Linked DNA regions of Homo sapiens: region 1 is linked to region 2. The links are contacts of gene promoters, found by promoter capture Hi-C in blood cells and fetal thymus (Javierre and others, 2016). All regions are on one chromosome and are shown on one strand. The core of a region is centred on a gene start or on the middle of the fragment in contact, and the rest is flanking DNA. Distances in the headings are between cores, read along the strand shown.

What was found. Contacts are between HindIII fragments. The CHiCAGO score rates a contact against its expected background, and 5 or more counts as called.
Region 1: a fragment that was not itself captured here is called in contact with the fragment with the promoter of MED17 in region 2 in 2 of 17 cell types (non-activated CD4 T cells and total CD4 T cells); the score reaches 6.1 in non-activated CD4 T cells.

Annotation. Positions count from the first base shown.
Region 1 is chr11:83,288,060-83,292,688 of GRCh38, forward strand. The region is part of intron 1 of CCDC90B-AS1 (CCDC90B antisense RNA 1); the gene reads left to right. Among named protein-coding and RNA genes, the nearest start is that of CCDC90B, 4.0 kb to the left of the region's middle. The HindIII fragment of the contact is 5,322 bases long and covers 1-4,084 here.
Region 2 is chr11:93,782,461-93,787,058 of GRCh38, forward strand. It overlaps MED17 (mediator complex subunit 17), which reads left to right and starts at 1,822. Exons shown (of 12, transcript NM_004268.5): 1 at 1,822-2,303. The coding sequence starts at 2,054. RefSeq lists enhancers at 1,643-1,937, 1,879-2,098, 4,107-4,598 and silencers at 2,229-2,358, 2,360-2,554. The HindIII fragment of the contact is 2,360 bases long and covers 464-2,823 here.

The DNA.
Region 1 (4,629 bases), core at 174-2,673, about 10 Mb before region 2:
GAATTATTTTCCTTTGGGTATATACCCAGTAGTGGGATTGCTGGGTTGAATGGTAGTTGTATTTTAAGTTCTTTGAGAAATCTCCAAACTGCTTTCCATAGTGGCTGAACTAGTTTGCATTCCCATCAACAGAGTATAAGCATTCCCTTTTCTTCACAGCCTAACCAATATGTGAATTTTTTTTCTTAATAATTGCCATTCTGATGGGTGTGAGATGGCATCTCATTGTAGTTTTGATTTGCATTTCTCTAATGATCAGTGGTGTTGAGGATTTTTTCATGTTTGTTGGCTATTTGTATGTCTTCTTTTGAGAAGTGTGTGTTCATGTCCTTTGCTCATTTTTTAATTGGATTGTTTTATACTTCTTGGTTTGTTTAAATTCCTTATAGATTCTGGATGTTAGACCTTTGTCAGATGCATAGTTTGCAAATATTTTCTCCTTCCCATTCTTAGGCTATCTGTTTACTCTGTTGGTAATTTCTTTTGCTGTGCAGAAGCTCTTTAATTAGGTCCCACTTGTCAGTTTTTATTTTTGTTGTAATTGCTGTTGGGGACTTAGCTATAAATTCTTTTCCAAAGCCTGTGTCAAGAAGGGTATTTCCTAGTTTTTTTTCTAGAGTTTTTATAGTTTGAGGGCTTACTTTTAAATCTTTAATCCAGCTTGTGGTAATTTTTGTATATGGTGAGAGGTAGGGGGGTCCAGTTTCATTCTTCTGCATATGGCTAGCCAGTTATCCCACCACCATTTACTGAATAGGGAATGCTATCCGTGTTGCTTATTTTTGTTGATTTTGTTGAAGACCAGATGGTTTTAGGTGTGTGGCTTTATTTCTGGGTTCTCTATTCTGTTCTACTGGTCTATGTGTCTGTTTTTGTAACACTACCATGCTGTTTTGATTAGTTTAGCCTTATAGTATTGTTTGAAGTCTTGCTTTGTTCTTTTTGCTTAAGATTGCTTTGACTATTCAGGCTCTTTTTTGGTTCCAAATTAATTTTAGAAGAGGTTTTTCTAGTTCTGTGAAAAATGATGTTGGTATTTTGATAAGGATAGCGTTAAATCTGTAATTTGTTTTGGATAGTATGGCCATTTTAACTGTATTGATTCTTCCAACCCATGAGCATGGAATATTTCTCCATTTATTTGTGTTGTCTCTGCTTTCTTTCAGTAGTGTTTTGTAGTTCTCCTTGCAGAGATCTTTCACCTCCCTGGTGAGATGATCCTGAGTATTCCATTTTCTTTGTGCCTATTGTAAATGGGATTGTGTTCTTGATTTGATTCTCAGCTAGAACATTATTGGTGTATAAAAATGCTACTGATTTTTTGTGCATTGATTGTGTATCCTGAAACTTTACTGAATTTGTTTATCAGTTCCAGGGGCCTTTGGGAGAGTCTTTAGGGTTTTCTAGGTGTAGAATCATATCGTTGGCAAAGAGAGATAGTTTACCTTCCTCTCTTCCTATTTGAATATCTTTATTTATTTCTCTTGCCTGATTGCCCTGGCTGGGACTTCCAGTACTATGTTGAATAAGGGTGGTGAGAATGGGCATCCTTTTCTTGTTCCAGTTCTCAAGGGGAATGTGTTTCCAGTTTTGGCCTTTAGCAATTTAGTAATATATTTATGAAACTCCAAAAAGTAAATAGCCAGAGTTTCACTTCTTCTTTTTTTTTTTTTTTTTTGAGACAGAGTCTTGCTCTATCACCCAGGCTGGAGTGCAACGGTGTGATCTTGGCTCACTGCAACCTCAGCCTCCCGGGTTCAAGCAATTCTCCTGCCTCAGCCTCCCAAGTAGCTGGGATTACAGGCATGCGCTGCCACACCCAGCTAATTTTTGTATTTTTAGTAGAGGTGGGGTTTCGCCATGCTGGTCAGGCTGGTCTTGAACTCCTGACCTCAGGTGATCCACCCATCTCGGTCTCTCAGAGTGCTGGGATTACAGGCAACTGTGAGCCACCGCACCTGGCCTAGAGTTTCACTTCTAAGAAGCTATCCATAGTAAATAATCACATCTGTAGCTAAGATTTTTGAAAAGGATGACTATTGCAATGTTATTTATAGTAGTGAAAAATTGAAAATAGTCTAAGTATTCAAAAGTGATTAAATAACTTGCAGAAGTGTCCCAATTTGGAATATTATGCAAGAATTTAGTATTTTTAAAAATAATCTTAGTGACAGGAAAATCCTTAATACATGTATATACATAATTATAATTCTGTATAATTCTTATATACAGGATTATAATTATAATTATATACATGATTATAATTCTGTTAAATGATAGGATCCCTGCTTGGGAGGAGCTAACAGGCTAGTGGAAGATACAGACCAGTAAGTGTTATCACAATATTTTACTTAACTTAAGGAATTATTATGAAAAAAGTGGATCTCTTTATATATTAATTCATGTTACTATTATTTATATTAACATAAAGCTCTCTCTGTAACACACATATACAGTGTTGATTATGTTCTCTTTGATGGAAGTGGCAATTAGATCCAGGGATTCTTAATCATTCTCTGAGGCTGGCTGGAACTATATCAAGTGAGTGCAGGAGCTTGGGTCATCCATAATCTACCATGCAGGCCAGAGAAGCATAGGAAGGAAAAGCAGGAATAGCAGATGAAGTGAGTCCAGATAGTATTCAGCTAATAGATACAGCTCCTCTCTGAGACCTCCTAATGCTCCTGTGTATTTTCAGATTCTCCTTGGTTGCTATTGTTTCTTTGTTAAACATCTTAATTTATAAAAATATTTTTCCATAAATTTGTTAATGTTTTCTCATGTTTGTTGAGAGGAATAGAAAAGATGATGCATCTAAAATACTTAGCACTGGACCTGGCATATACAAGCACCCAATAAACAATAATAATACCTGCTTACTCAGAGTTAGGAAATAATTTCCATGGGTGTCTCATGTTTCTGTATGTTTTACAAATGGAGGTCTTCTCTGCCTTTTGTTGTGGCAGTTTTGTATAACGAACAACCTTAGGAAATATAGCATCTCTCTCTGGAGCAAAAGGCCTCATGCTTACTGCCTATTATAAAAGATTTGTGTTCTCATAGGTCAGGGTTCCTCTCTGTAATGCAATGTACTGTACGTGCTCAGGCATCTACGTAGCCCCAGCTGCATCATCCCCATGAACTTGGGGCCAAGGGGAGCTGACACAAATATGCCGATACTCGTGCTGCTCGCTGCACCATCAGTAATTGGGTTCTTTGTTTCTAGCAAGGAGTCTCATATCTTCTACCAGCATCCATGCAACCATGACAGGATAACTTGATAGCCTGCTAATAGGGTAAGATCTCGGACCCTTCACAATATTATTCTTCTCTGGACTTTTAAACATTTTTCATTTTTCCAGTTTTACTTACAGAAATATCTGAGTGCCAGCTAGGTTTAAGGTTAGATGTGAGGAATGTAAAGAAAACCAGTTCAATCCAACAACTATTCAAGTTCTTACTACGTGCAGGGATTTCTGCTAGGATACGCAAGGATTGCAAAGATTTCTGCTCTCCAGTAATTTGTAATATATTAATAACTGAGAGAATAGAACAAGCATTTTAATAGCCTTCAACACAGAGCTTTAATAGGTTAGTGTCATGTAAATGTTAAGAAAATAATAAATCCTATAATTCAGTTGAAGGTTAAATGCTTTTTGATAATGGTTATCAAGAAGAGATAGGATTTGAACCTTAGGGGTTTTAGTTAGTAGAGGTTGTAAGGCAAGGGGTCCAGGAGAGAGGATTGGAGTGAGCAAGTACAATTTACTCATCGCTTTGCTCCTTCCTACTCAGGGACTTTGCATATGGTAAAGCATCACTACTCAACTTGGAGCTCTTTCTCCTCTTTATCTGGCCAATTCCTTTATATCTTTCAGATTCCAGTTTAAATGGTGACTTTTTAGAGTAACTCTTTAAGAAGTCATTCCCACTCAAACAACATGCAGATTTGGTACTTTTGTTATGGACTCATACAGCAACCCAGCCTTCCCATGTCTCTGCACTTAATATTTGTTTTCTCCATTATGGTAGAGACCATATGTGTCATGGTGTCTCCAGTGCTTATCATGCCTGGGCCATAACAAGCTTTTGGTAAGTGTGTGTTGAATGAATGAGTGAATGTTCAAAATATGGTCATAGTTTGGTGAGGAAACTTCGTAGACTGGGGCATAGGAATTATATGAAGACTGGGTGGAATTGGGGTGAACAAAATGAAAAAGGTAGAATAAAAAAGACTAAGGAAATTGAATTTCATACAGTGGACTTGCAGGAGATTTTGAAATTTTTTGAGCTAAAATAGATAAAAATCAGTTTGAATTTCTTTCTAGAAAATAACTATTTGCCATTTGCTAGTGTAGGCAAATGAATCCTTTCCTCTTCCAATGTCTGATGAGATGGCCTGGACATGAGAAATGCTCCCCTGCTGAAAGCAGCCTAGTTTATCTAAATCTCAAAGGCCAACAGGGTAGCAGGGAAGTGGGTCCTGGTTTTTTTCATTGCAAATAACCACTTTTTTTTTTTTACCTTTATAAGCTCCCATTTAAAACACAGCTTACACTCTTTACCAACAACATGTATGAAGCCACTACTTATTTTCCTATTTTCCATTAATTCAAGATAAGTTACTGT
Region 2 (4,598 bases), core at 572-3,071:
TTATGCTTAATCATATATTTGAGTAGTTTGTACTTTGCCAAAACCTGCAAATTTTCCTTATTTATGATCTCATTGGGTTCATCCTGTGTTTCATTGGTATGATCACTTAGCTTCCATCTTCATACCACAACTGAGTGTTGAAGATGTTATTTGGCATATAGAGGTCCTAACCAATTATACCCAAAAGATAGCTACATAAGTATTCCATTATTAAACAATAGTTATTCTTATGGAAAAGGCCATTATTACAAAACCGTATGGCTTTTGACATACTCACCGAAGCCCAGGGAGGAACTTGCATTATCATAAAAACTGTGTGTTATGTCTGTATCCCAGATGAATCAGATAATATCACTACGTTAATGGATAATATGAAAACCTTAACAACTAACCTTTCAGATCCAACACATCTTTAAACAACTGGCTAAGCAGCTAGTTTTGATCTTGAAGACTTGGTGGCAAAAGCTTTGCTTATTCTAGGAATCATAATCATTTGTTGTTGTCTTGTTTTTGTCTGCACTATTAGACTGCCACTGCGCCTGGCTATTAATCAGATTTTAAAATAAAGTTAAAAAAAATTTTTAAACAAATTTACACGAAAAGCAAGTACAGTGGTTCTCGAACATGATTGGGCGACAGACTGTACAGCTTGCCAGAAATAGGTTTCTCTCATGAAAATTCAACCCCCTCCACACACGGCCATCTACTTTCTTCTTCAGCAGGGACTGACACCAGGGCAACCGTATTTTCCTAAATACCTTAGGAAAGTAGTTCAAAACCTAGATATATCTTGGTCAGAACAAAACCTGGCAAACACTCATGATAAACGGTATATATAATTCCTTAAACGAAATATAGAGGTTTGTAATATAAAATAATCCATCTTTGTCTGTGGAATTCCTACTAATGAAATACGTTCTTGGAGACCCAAAGACTGAAGTTATACCACTTCTTCTTAATCTTTTAAATATTATTTGCAGGCCAGGCATGGTGACACGCTCCTATAGTCCCAGCTCCTCAGGAGGCTAAGGCAGGAGCATCGTTGGAGCCCAGGAGCTCCAGGCTGTAGCGTGCTGACAGCACTTGTGAATAACCTCTGCACTCAGCCTGGGCAACATAGTGGGACCCCATCACTAATAAAAAAGCGAGATCAACATTATTTATTCTGTTACTCGGGCATAAAATAAATATTAAGCACTTACTACATGCCAGAGTCTATTATGTCTGCTGCAGATATTGGCTGTCATAGAGTTATAACTAACAGGAAACCAAATAATTACGTAGTATAATTTTAAGTGGTGATAAGCACGATTGTTTCCCCCAAGCCATGCCCTTAATTTCTAACTCTTCAGATAGTGTTTCTTTAAAAAATTTCTTGCTAATTTAAAATAACTTTTGTTTTGAGGCAGGATCCCACTCTGTTGCTTAGGCTGGAATGCAGCGGTGAGATCTCGGCTCACTGCAGCCTCCATCTCCAGGGCTCAAGCCATTCTCCCGCCTCAGCCACCCGCGTAGCTGGACCACAGGCGCGCGCCACCAGATCTCAGTTCTCTCAACAGGACTCTCATTGCTAAGATCCAAGGATCCATTAATTTCCTTTTCCTTAACTCTTCTAGCCTCTGCAGCTTTCTTTCCTCATCCACTTTTTAAACAAACGCAGGCTTAAAAAGCAAGGAATATACCCGCCACACTCTCGGCTCCCAAACCGCTCTTTCCCTCCCTCTGCCGGCCACGCCTCTTATAGGCCCGGAAGTTTACCCCACCCTGCACCGTGATTCACCGGAAGCGCTCTAGGGAACCCTGGAGCTTCCGCGCCTGCCCAGTTTTGCTCCGAAAGACTTACCGAGGAGGGAGCTTGCGGTGCGTTCTGGGAAAGTTGCTGGGCCAGCTCCTTTGTTTCCAGTCTGAGCGTTGCGTTCGGTTTCCCGAGGGTCTTCTGAGGCACCGCGGCTGCGGGCTTCTGAGTTCCCGGCTCTCCGCAGGGAAGCCTCCTCTTCGTACCTCGTTTTTTGGCTCGTGGGGGGTCCTCCCACCGCTGGCCGACGCAGCCAGCATGTCCGGGGTGCGCGCAGTGCGGATCAGCATCGAATCGGCCTGCGAGAAGCAGGTCCATGAGGTGGGCCTGGATGGCACCGAGACGTACCTGCCCCCGCTGTCCATGTCGCAGAATCTGGCGCGTCTGGCCCAGCGGATAGACTTCAGCCAGGGTTCGGGCTCCGAGGAGGAGGAGGCGGCGGGGACCGAGGGCGACGCGCAGGAGTGGCCGGGCGCCGGGTCCAGCGCAGACCAGGACGACGAGGAAGGTAAGGCCTGCATCCGCTGCCCGAGTCCCCCGGTCTGGGTCCCAGCACCCGCGCGGGCCTCCGCCTCTCCCGCGATGGGGGTGATCTTGTGCGTGCGAGAACTTTTGAGTGTCCCTCTAGCGGAAGCGTAAGGATACTTGGTCGTCATCTTTTTGTTGCTGCCGGACAAGGTAGGACACGACTTTACGTAATACTCCTGCGGGTCTCCTTGAATGGCAGCGTTTAGAGACACTGTCAAACCGTGAAATGTTTAAATGAATGCTTCTCTGTAGAGGGCCTTTAATGTAGCACACTTAGTGGCTAAAAGAGCCCTAGATCGGGGCTCTGCCCCTTGCCGGCTGTGTGACCTTGGGCGAGTTACTTTGCATCCTTGTGCGGTGTGAATGATGATAGTAGCACCTGCAGAAAAGAGGTCTGTTTTGACTGAAATGTGTGACGAGGTCCAAGAGGTAGGCGGGTCCAGATCATGTAGAACCCAGTAGGCCGGGATAAGCGTTTGACTAGTGTTAAGACCACTGAAAGCTTTTGCAGGATAAGTAGAGATGGTTTTGTTAAAGTTTACTCTAGATGCTTTCTAATAAATGAATTATAGGGAAAGCAAAACTGGAAGGGAGGAGACTAGGAGGGAAGTGAAGAAATAATGAGTGGGTTTCAGATTCTCATTATTGTCAAGGATTTTTGAAAAAAAAATCAAAATTCTTAATTTAGTTATGCAGCACACCCAGTGTAAATGGGAATTTAAAGATGTCATTTCAGGGCAGTGCTGTTAGGATTATTAGGGGTCTATTTGCAAAAAAAGGTAAATACTACTTTATACCTCACACAAAAATTATTTCCACAGTAATTTTTGAGGATTGAAGTGCCAAATGAAGAAAGTAAAACAAAGTGTTAGAAGAAATAATGAAAGAATAGTTGTATTATTCTGGGAGTCGGATAGATCTTCTTAATTTCGGAAATAACAGGACAGGCATGGTGGCTCACACCTGTAGTTCCAACATTTTTGGAGGCCAAGGTGGAAGGATCACTTGAGCCCAGACTTCAAGACCAGCCTGAGCAACATAGGGAGCTCCTGCCTCTACAAATTAAAAAAATTAGCTGGGCGTGGTGGTGCACGTCTGTGGTCCCAGCTACTGGGGAGGCTGAGGGAGGAGGATGGATTCAGCCAGTGAGATCAAGGCTGCAGTGAGCTATGATTGTGCCACCGCACTCCAGCCTGGGTAACAGAACAAGACTCTAACATCCACACACACAACCACACACCTACCTACCTTACAAAGTATAGATATATTACTTACATAAAATTTAAAAATAATGGGAAAAGATGCCATAAGCAAAGTAAAAAGATAAATGACAGACTGGGAGAAGTTCTACACATATAACACAAATTTAGTTGATATCTTCTCTATTCAAAAAGTCCCTTCAGACTGAAAAGAAAATAATGACACTTTGGAAAAATAGGCCAAAGGTATCTGAAGGCTCATAGAGGAGAGACTTCAGATACCAATAAACAGAACATAGACTCAATCTCATTACTAGGGACTGGGAAATTAAAACATGATTAAGATACTCTTTCCATGCACAAAATTGACAGAAATTGAAAAGATTGTTAATATTCAGGGTTAGGAATGTGAACTGGTAGTGATTCTGAAAGACAATTTGGCAGTTTAATATGTGCCAACATTTAATTTTAACTTTTTTTGGTTTGTTTTGTTTTTTTTTTTGAGATGGAGTCTTGCTCTGTCGGCCAGGCTGGAGTGCAGTGGTGCAATCTCGGCTCACTGCAACCCCTGCCTCCTGGATTCAAAACGATTCTCCCACTTCAGCTTCCCTAGTATGTGGGACTGTAGGCGTGCGGCACCATGCCTGGCTAATTTTTGTATTTTTAGTAGAGATAGAGTTTCACCATGTTGGCCAGGCTGGTCTTAAATACCTGATGTCAGGTGATCCACCCTGCCTCGGCCTCCCAAAGTGCTGGGATTACAGGCCTGAGCCACTGCACCCAGCCGAAACTTTTAAATGTATATCTCCTTTGATTCACTATTACCACGACTAAAAATTTAACCTGCAGAAAAAGTTGCACATATACAGGGTATATATTCAAGATGTTTACCACTGCTAGCATTGTTGGAAGCAGTTTACTTGTTGGAAGCAATCTACATGTCCGTTAAATACAAGTGGTTAAACATACCGTACATCCATGTTCCAGAATATCATACAGTGTTAGAAGAATTAAGTAGACTCATAAGTACTAACATGGAAGTGTCTCTAGGAAATATTAAGTGGGGGCGGGGGAAA